Linked DNA regions of Homo sapiens: region 1 is linked to region 2. The links are contacts of gene promoters, found by promoter capture Hi-C in human tissues and cell types (Jung and others, 2019). All regions are on one chromosome and are shown on one strand. Each heading gives the region's core, a stretch centred on a gene start or on the middle of the fragment in contact. The rest is flanking DNA. Distances are from core to core; before and after follow the strand shown.

Region 1 (5,571 bases), core at 267-2,766, 54 kb after region 2:
GGCATGCACCACCACGCCTGGCTAATTTTGTTATTTTTAGTAGAGACGGGGTTTCTCCAGGTTGGTCAGGCTGGTCTGGAACTCCGGACCTCAGGTGATCCGCCTGCCTCAGCCTCCCAAAGTGCTGGGATTACAGGCGTGAGCCACTGCGCCCAACCAAGTTATATCTTTTTGTTGGTGGAGAATCTTGCCTTGATGTTGGTGGCTGCTGCCTAATCAAGGTGGTGGTTGCTGAAGACCAGGGTGGCTGTGGCAATTTCTTCAAATAAGCCAATGAAGTTTGCCACATCAATTGACTCTTCCTTTCATGAATGAGTTATCTGTACCACGTGATGCTGTTTGATATCATTTTAGCCACAGTAGAACTTCTTCCAAAGTTGGAGTCAGTCGCCTCAAACCTTGTCACTGCTTTATTAACTGAGTTTGTGTAAAATTCTAAATTCTTGTCATTTCAACAACATACACAGCATCTTCACAAGGATAAGGTTCCATCACAAGAAACCACTTTCTTTGCTCATCCATAAGAAGCAACTCCTCATCTGTTCAAGTTTGATCATGAGATTGCAGCAATTCAGTCCCACCTTCAGGCTCCACTTCTAACTCTACCTCTCTTGCTATTTCCACCACATCTGCATTTACTTCCTCTATTGAAGTCTTGAATCCCCTAGGGCTCCATGAGGGTTGGAATAAAACTTCTTCCAAACTCCTATTTGTTGTTGATATTCTGACATCCTCCCATGAACCACAAATGTTATTAATGGCATCTAGAATGGTAAATCCTTTCATATGGCTTTCAATTTCTTTGCCCAGATTCATCAGAGGACTCACTATTTACGAAAGTTGTAGCTTTACAAAACGTATTAATATATATATATTCTTTTCTGAGACAGAGTCTCACTCTGTCACCCAGGCTGGAGTGCAGTGGCACAATCTCAGCTCACTGCAACCTCCACCTCCCAGGTTCAAGCAATTCTCCTTCCGCAGCCTCCTGAGTAGCTAGGATTACAAGCATGTGCCACCATGCCTGGATTTTTTTTTTTTTTGTACTTTTAGAAGAGACGGGGTTTCACCATGTTGGCCAGGCTGGTCTCGAACTCCTGACCTCATGATCTGCCCGCCTCGGCCTCCCAAAGTGCTGGGATTACAAGCGTGATCTACCGCGTCTGGCCTAATATTTCTTAAATAAGACTTGAAAGTCAAAATTACTCTTTGATCCATAGGTTGTAGAATGGATGTCATGTTAGCAGGCATGAAAACATCAATCTTCTTGTACATCTCCATCACAACTCTTGAGTGACTAGGTGCATTGTCAATGAGCTTATCATATTTTGAAAGCTTTAGGTTTTTTCCGTCCCTGAGCAATAGGTCTCAACAGTGGGTTTAAAATATTAGATGCGTTATGCTATAGAGATGTGCTGTCATCCATGCTTTGCTGTTCTATTTCTAGAGCACAGGCAGAGTAGATTTAGCTTAATTTTTAAGGGCCCTAGGATTTTCGAAATGGTAAATGAGTATTGGCTTCAGCTTAAAGTCACCAGCTGCATAAACCCCTCACAAGTCAGTCTTTTTTGAAGCTTTGAAGCCAGGCATTGACTTCTCTCTAGCCTATGAAAGGCCTAGATGGCATCTGCTTCCAATAGAAGGCTATTTTGTCTACCTTAAATACTTGCTATTTAGCATAGCCCCTTCATCAATTATCTCAGCTAGATCTTCCAGACAACTTGCTGCAGTTCGTACATCAACTCTTGCTGCTTCACTTTGCACTTTAATGTTATGGAGATGGGTGTTTTCCTTAAATCTCATGAACCAGCCTCTGCTAGCTTCAAACTTTTCTTCCACAACTTCTTCACCTCTCTGACTTCACGGAATTGGAGTTACGGCTTTGCTCTGGATACGGTTTTGGCTTAAGAGAATGTTGGGCCTGTTTCAATCTTTTATCCAGACCACTAAAACTTTATATCAGAAATAGGGTTCTTTTGTTTTCTTATCATTGTGTAGTCACTGGAGTAGCACTTTTAATTTCCTTCAAGATTTATCTTTTGCATTCACAACTTGTCTAATGGGCCCAAGAAGCCTATCTTTCTGGCCCATCTCAGATTTTGCCATGCCTTCCTCATTAAGCTTAATCATTTTCAGCTTTTGATTTAAACTGAGACGTGCGACTCTTCCTTTTACTTGAACACTTAGAGGCCACTGTAGGGCTATTAATTGGCCTAATTTCAATGTTGTGTCTCCGGGAATACAGAGGCCTAAGGAGACGGAGAGAGGGAACAGCCTGTTTGTGGAGCAATCAGAACACGTGCATTTATGTTCACCATCGTATGGGTGTGGTTCATGAGGCTCCAAATTACACTAGTAACATTCAAGATCCCGGATCACCATAACATGATAATTTAAGCCTGAAATAATTTTAAGAGTTATCAAATGTGACACAGACAGGAAATGAGCACACACTGTTAGAAAATAGCACTAATGAACTTGCTCAACATGGGGTTGCCACAAACCTTCGTTATTTTGAAGAAAAAATCTTGCAATATCTGCAAAGTGCAGTAAAACAAGGTATGCCTGTAACTTCAAGTACAGTGCTTTCACAACAGTGCAGCTTAGTAAAGAGCTTACACTTAAGAATTAGACTGTCTGGACCAAAAAACCCTGCCTCCTCTGCTTACTGTGTATCATTGGGCAGGTTACCACACCTCATTCTCTGCATGTGTAAATAATATTACCTACCTTATAAAGTTGGGGGGTGGAGGGGGCAAGTGGGTGATATTTATGTGTAATTTCCAGTTTTTCCCTGTAAGGTTCTAAGCTGGAGATACAATTCTGATAACTGAGTCATGTAACACGAAACTTTATAACACCCATTTATATTCCCAGGTTATAGAAAGCTGAGGCCCAATCAGTCTCCTCAATGGGTATCACGATCAGCTTCTGTGAAGAGTGTGGTTTTTACTCCAAGTACAACCTTCTTTGCAGCTTCTCATACTAGAGAGGGTGTCTCCTCCCCGGAACCAATAAACCTTATTCACATTGGTAATTAAAAAAAAAAAAAAAATAGCCACTGAATCCTTTAGCCAAGCAAAATTTTAAAGTGGAATTGCTTCTGTTTAATAGTGTGTACTTCCAATCTGAAAACCACTGCCCTAAGTAAACCAGATTACATCAGTTCCAGAGAACTGTCTGAAATTAACTATTTCGCCTCTTGACAAATCTAACCCTGGAGGGCCAGAATGCATCTCTGTCCCTCTACACCATCCTTGAACTTAAGACTTATTCACCTGGAACCACAGGCTCTGCTTATTGGAATTCTCTTCCTCTGTTCTCCACTGAACATTAGTGTCTTTTTCAGCTCAGATAAGGAAACTATTGCTTTTTTTGCTCATATACCAGGAAGACCCAAATTTACACATAATTCTACTTATTAAATATTAGCTAGTATGTGAAGAAATGGTGAGAAGGCCAGATCAGGGCTGACTAAAAACTTCTGGAAGATTTTAATCATATTTAGAAGGTTATGCAGTACAGGCAAATAGATTAGGGGCGAAAGCTTAGACTGGAAAATGGGGTTTGAGGCATCCATGAAATAAGGGCTAGGTATCTATCAGTGATGAAAACCTGAAAGGCCTCAAAGCCACCCCATGTATCTCCACCTACACCCCAGACTGTGTTAAGAAACTGTCCTCTATATTCCCAGCACCTGACACATACAGAGTTAATACTTGACTCCTTGCCTGATTACACCAGATTCACCTCTTGCTTAAACTCTCTACCTCAGGTAAGTTTTCCTTTTCCTGTAGCACATTATTCCTTTCTGTTGAGGGAAGTTTTTAAAAAAATAATTACATTACAATATGAAGTAAATTTGTGGCTCTTAACCAAACTCTATTTAACCACTTCCAAGGTAATATAAGTTGACTGATGACTATTAGCTAGTAGGTGGTTGTCAATATTACTTGATTTCTACAATTTTTACTGTAAAAACTGTGGTCAAATTAGGGGTATGAAGAAAGCTGGAAAACTGAGGGAAGGTATCTGTGAAAGTTCAAGGGAATTCTCTATTCAGATTTCTTTAAGACAAAACTGAAAACTATATATGATGCATATGTAATAGAATCTAGGCAGCAGACATCTCAAAGAAATGGTGTAGTCCTTCATTAAAAGATTGTATGGAAAATAAGCATACATCTAATACAAGCAATCAAAGTATCTAGACTTTGTGACTTTCCATTTTAACTGACCAACCACCAATCCTAGTTCTTCTACTTCTAAAGCACCTACAAAATAATTAGGTCTGTCAAACTATAATATAGTTTTATATTTATCCATAAGGTGGAAAAAAGTTGCAGGGGCATGTGAAGTCAGTACTGAAAATGGTAAGCATCTGTGAAATATGCTGCAGTGGTAACATGAAAAATCACGGGTTACTTGTTAGAAAAGACACTTAAATAGCTTCTGACTCATTCTGCCCTCTGTATCTTGCCTCTGGCCAAGAGTTTGTTAGAACTTTATAAACTATACCCTCCTCTCATTCCCCAACCCTCCTCCCCCAATCACTCTTCTATCATAAGCACTATTTGTTATTAACTAGGGGCAAGGACCTGGACTCCCCTTACCTTCTACCAGGGCAGCTCAGGGACAATGTTCAGAAGCTTATGTGACCAAGTATCTACAGTCAACTATTAACTGCAAAACCTTTTGGGTTATTCTGTCACATGTCAGAGAAGCCATGGACAAAACTACATGGCCAACTGCAGAGACACTTATATACATTATCTTACTTTCATTCGATATGCTTTTGGTGCCATTTTTCCATTGTAGGTTCTAGCGAAGGACCCAAAGTATTAGTGGTATTTTAACAGTTAATACAACCAAATAGCACATGCCTGCTGGTTTGCAAGTGGGGGTAATGCAAGCTGTATAGCTGGTCACCCATTAGGTCTTAAAATTTAGGAGGATTAAACTTAAAAACTAGAATATGAAAAATACTGACAATGGCAGTGACTTAGTAAGGCAAGTACTTGATTCCCATTCTTATCCATCATACCTCTTCCCCCAATCCCCTGCAATAAACCACAGCTTTTAATTTAGAGCATATTTTGAGAAAAACCCTAGACTGAAAACTTGGATCAAGGCAGGGCCTATTAATACGTATCAGACCTGGTGCGGTGGCTCACGCCTGTAATCCCAGAACTTTGGGAGGCTGAGGCAGGTGGATTGCTTGAGCTCAGGAGTTCAAGACCAGCCTGGGCAACATGGAGAAACCCTGTCTCTACCCAACACAAAACCATCAAAACTTGAGTATCTTGTGTTTAACAATCGCAGTATCCATGAGTTAAGAAGGCACATGCGTCATTAGTGACTAAATGACTAGTTTTCTCAAAGCTGGGTCTGGAAGCCGTATGTTCTGAACATGGGATTAAGTAATTACAATCCCTCAGTATTTCATTTCATAAATTGAGTAAATGATAGAATAAATGCCCTATAGCCTTTTAGGGCAGGTGATGTTCATGAACATGCTAACAAAGCTATGAAAAATACAAACATAAATAATACTGAGATCTATTTTTGGTC
Region 2 (4,953 bases), core at 2,188-4,687:
TGTGTGTATAGGGGAGGAGGGCATACCCCAGAGACTCCTTGAAGCCCCCGGCAGAGGTTTCCTCTCCAGCTGGGGGAGCCCTGCAAGCACCCGGGGTCCTGGGTGTCCTGAGCAACCTGCCAGCCCGTGCCACTGGTTGTTTTGTTATCACTCTCTAGGGACCTGTTGCTTTCTATTTCTGTGTGACTCGTTCATTCATCCAGGCATTCATTGACAATTTATTGAGTACTTATATCTGCCAGACACCAGAGACAAAATGGTGAGCAAAGCAGTCACTGCCCTACCTTCGTGGAGGTGACAGTTTCTCATGGAAGACGTGCAGAAGAAAATTAATAGCCAGCCAACTTAAACCCAGTGCTGAAAGAAAGGAAATAAACACCATCTTGAAGAATTGTGCGCAGCATCCCTTAACAAGGCCACCTCCCTAGCGCCCCCTGCTGCCTCCATCGTGCCCGGAGGCCCCCAAGCCCGAGTCTTCCAAGCCTCCTCCTCCATCAGTCACAGCGCTGCAGCTGGCCTGCCTCGCTTCCCGTGAATCGTCCTGGTGCATCTGAGCTGGAGACTCCTTGGCTCCAGGCTCCAGAAAGGAAATGGAGAGGGAAACTAGTCTAACGGAGAATCTGGAGGGGACAGTGTTTCCTCAGAGGGAAAGGGGCCTCCACGTCCAGGAGAATTCCAGGAGGTGGGGACTGCAGGGAGTGGGGACGCTGGGGCTGAGCGGGTGCTGAAAGGCAGGAAGGTGAAAAGGGCAAGGCTGAAGCTGCCCAGATGTTCAGTGTTGTTCACGGGGCTGGGAGTTTTCCGTTGCTTCCTGTGAGCCTTTTTATCTTTTCTCTGCTTGGAGGAGAAGAAGTCTATTTCATGAAGGGATGCAGTTTCATAAAGTCAGCTGTTAAAATTCCAGGGTGTGCATGGGTTTTCCTTCACGAAGGCCTTTATTTAATGGGAATATAGGAAGCGAGCTCATTTCCTAGGCCGTTAATTCACGGAAGAAGTGACTGGAGTCTTTTCTTTCATGTCTTCTGGGCAACTACTCAGCCCTGTGGTGGACTTGGCTTATGCAAGACGGTCGAAAACCTTGGAATCAGGAGACTCGGTTTTCTTTCTGGTTCTGCCATTGGTTGGCTGTGCGACCGTGGGCAAGTGTCTCTCCTTCCCTGGGCCATAGTCTTCTCTGCTATAAAGACCCTTGCAGCTCTCGTGTTCTGTGAACACTTCCCTGTGATTCTCTGTGAGGGGGGATGTTGAGAGGGGAAGGAGGCAGAGCTGGAGCAGCTGAGCCACAGGGGAGGTGGAGGGGGACAGGAAGGCAGGCAGAAGCTGGGTGCTCCATCAGTCCTCACTGATCACGTCAGACTCCAGGACCGAGAGCCACAATGCTTCAGGAAAGCTCAATGAACCCAACAGCCACATTTTCCTTCCCTAAGCATAGACAATGGCATTTGCCAATAACCAAAAAGAATGCAGAGACTAACTGGTGGTAGCTTTTGCCTGGCATTCAAAAACTGGGCCAGAGCAAGTGGAAAATGCCAGAGATTGTTAAACTTTTCACCCTGACCAGCACCCCACGCAGCTCAGCAGTGACTGCTGACAGCACGGAGTGACCTGCAGCGCAGGGGAGGAGAAGAAAAAGAGAGGGATAGTGTATGAGCAAGAAAGACAGATTCATTCAAGGGCAGTGGGAATTGACCACAGGGATTATAGTCCACGTGATCCTGGGTTCTAGGAGGCAGGGCTATATTGTGGGGGGAAAAAATCAGTTCAAGGGAAGTCGGGAGACCTGATTTCTAATACTATATTTTTCCTTTACAAGCTGAGTAATTCTGAGCAAGTCACAAGGTAGTAACTGAGGCTGTAAGATTACTTAGTTTCTCCTTATTAGGAACTCTTTTTCTCTGTGGAGTTAGCAGCACAAGGGCAATCCCGTTTCTTTTAACAGGAAGAAAACATTCCTAAGAGTAAAGCCAAACAGATTCAAGCCTAGGTCTTGCTGACTATATGATTGGTTTTTTGAAAAATCATTTCAGCGATGTTTACTATCTGATTCAGAAAATGAGACTAGTACCCTTTGGTCAGCTGTAAACAAACACCCATTTGTAAATGTCTCAAGTTCAGGCTTAACTGCAGAACCAATCAAATAAGAATAGAATCTTTAGAGCAAACTGTGTTTCTCCACTCTGGAGGTGAGTCTGCCAGGGCAGTTTGGAAATATTTACTTCACAAGTATTGACACTGTTGTTGGTATTAACAACATAAAGTTGCTCAAAGGCAATCATTATTTCAAGTGGCTTAAAGTTACTTCTGACAGTTTTGGTATATTTATTGGCTATTGCCATTTGCTTTTTGTTTTTTCTCTTTGGGTTTATTAATGTAAAGCAGGGATTATTAACCTACAGTCCAGAAAGCCTGTGAATTTGAATGAGGAAAAAATTACATTTTTGTTTTTACCACCTTCTAACTAAATTTAACATTTTATTCCATTGCGAATAGAGCCATAAACTCAAAGTGGTAATAACAGTACCTGTGATTTTGTCATTACCAATAGAAATCACAGACATTTTATACTATATTACAGTTGTTGCAGATACGTTGTAAGTGAAATATTTATACTCAAAACTACTTTGAAATTAGACCTCCTGCTGGATCTTGTTTTTAACATATTAATAAAACATGTTTAAAATTTTGATATTTTGATAATCATATTTCATTATCATTTGTTTCCTTTGTAATCTATATTTTATATATTTGAAAACATCTTTCTGAGAAGAGTTCCCCAGATTTCACCAATGAGGTTCTTGGCATGCACACACACAGAGTAAGAACTGATTTAGAGGCTAACATTGACATTGGTGCCTGAGATGCAAGACTGAAATTAGAAAGTTCTCCCAAAGATACACAGTTGTTTTAAAGCTAGGGGTGAGGGGGGAAATCTGCCGCTTCTATAGGAATGCTCTCCCTGGAGCCTGGTAGGGTGCTGTCCTTGTGTTCTGGCTGGCTGTTATTTTTCTCTGTCCCTGCTACGTCTTAAAGGACTTGTTTGGATCTCCAGTTCCTAGCATAGTGCCTGGCACAGTGCAGGTTCTCAATGAGTTTGCAGAGTGAATGGAAATATAAACTAGAAATATATCCTTGTTGAAATCAGCACACCAGTAGTCCTGGTGTAAGTGTGTGTACGTGTGTGTGTGTGTGTGTGTGTGTGTAAAACCAGGTGGAGATATAGGAACTATTATTGGGGTATGGGTGCATAAATTGGGATGTTCTTTTTAAAAAGAAACTCCAAACAGACTTCTGGAAGGTTATTTTCTAAGAATCTTGCTGGCAGCGTGAAGGCAACCCCCCTGTGCACAGCCCCACCCAGCCTCACGTGGCCACCTCTGTCTTCCCCCATGAAGGGCTGGCTCCCCAGTATATATAAACCTCTCTGGAGCTCGGGCATGAGCCAGCAAGGCCACCCATCCAGGCACCTCTCAGCACAGCAGAGCTTTCCAGAGGAAGCCTCACCAAGCCTCTGCAATGAGGTTCTTCTGTGCACGTTGCTGCAGCTTTGGGCCTGAGATGCCAGCTGTCCAGCTGCTGCTTCTGGCCTGCCTGGTGTGGGATGTGGGGGCCAGGACAGCTCAGCTCAGGAAGGCCAATGACCAGAGTGGCCGATGCCAGTATACCTTCAGTGTGGCCAGTCCCAATGAATCCAGCTGCCCAGAGCAGAGCCAGGCCATGTCAGTCATCCATAACTTACAGAGAGACAGCAGCACCCAACGCTTAGACCTGGAGGCCACCAAAGCTCGACTCAGCTCCCTGGAGAGCCTCCTCCACCAATTGACCTTGGACCAGGCTGCCAGGCCCCAGGAGACCCAGGAGGGGCTGCAGAGGGAGCTGGGCACCCTGAGGCGGGAGCGGGACCAGCTGGAAACCCAAACCAGAGAGTTGGAGACTGCCTACAGCAACCTCCTCCGAGACAAGTCAGTTCTGGAGGAAGAGAAGAAGCGACTAAGGCAAGAAAATGAGAATCTGGCCAGGAGGTTGGAAAGCAGCAGCCAGGAGGTAGCAAGGCTGAGAAGGGGCCAGTGTCCCCAGACCCGAGACACTGCTCGGGCTGTGCCACCAGGCTCCAGAGAAGGTAAGAATGCAGAGTGGGGGGACTCTGAGTTCAGCAGGTGATATGGCTCGTAGTGACCTGCTACAGGCGCTCCAGGCCTCCCTGCCTGCCCTTTCTCCTAGAGACTGCACAGCTAGCACAAGACAGATGAATTAAGGAAAGCACAGCGATCACCTTCAAGTATTACTAGTAATTTAGCTCCTGAGAGCTTCATTTAGATTAGTGGTTCAGAGTTCTTGTGCCCCTCCATGTCAGTTTTCACAGTCCATAGCAAAAGGAGAAATAAAAGGACCGGGTGAGATGTGTCTGCATATGAGCAGTAGAAAGTTGTCAATTGTCCCTTTTGAAAAACTATCCTTTTTTGAACCTTTGCTCAGATTGTTATTTGTACCTTTTGATGTTAAAATGACCTTTATTTATGAAATTACAATAGATTTGGGAAATGATAATAAGTGGTAAGTTTTTGTTTATTTTTAAATGTTCTTCCCTGGCAAAATAAAGAGATGGCACCTCTCTGTCAGTTTTCTTAATATGTTGTTCTGAAAGTTTTCTTACTCAGTCCAATCTGAGAACCTCTGCTTTTAAGTCATCAGACAAATTCTTGAGATGGCTTTTTCTGAGAGGCTCTTCTGTTCATCCTGGTCCCTTCTTGCCTAAAGGTGAGTCTGTGTGTGTGTGGGGGGGGTGCGGGGGTGAGGTGTTGGGGGAGGTCTTCTTATTAGCTGGGAAGATGGTATTTGTGTCACTTTTTGTGAAAGTGGGCTCCCAAATATTCCCTGTTGAGGAAGTGTTCTAATCATGAGGAAATAAGCAAGCAAATCCAGTTGTTGGACAATTAGTTTGGACTGGTCAAAGAT

What was found. Contacts are between HindIII fragments. The study calls those that stand out against the background at their distance.
Region 1: a fragment that was not itself captured here is called in contact with the fragment with the promoter of MYOC in region 2 in 1 of the 25 tissues and cell types used here (pancreas).

The regions. Positions count from the first base shown.
Region 1 is chr1:171,594,469-171,600,039 of GRCh38, reverse strand. No RefSeq gene overlaps it. Among named protein-coding and RNA genes, the nearest start is that of MYOCOS, 25 kb to the left of the region's middle. The HindIII fragment of the contact is 5,166 bases long and covers 1-4,099 here.
Region 2 is chr1:171,651,172-171,656,124 of GRCh38, reverse strand. It overlaps MYOC (myocilin), which reads left to right and starts at 3,437. Exons shown (of 3, transcript NM_000261.2): 1 at 3,437-4,117. The coding sequence starts at 3,514. The HindIII fragment of the contact is 9,045 bases long and covers 1-4,953 here.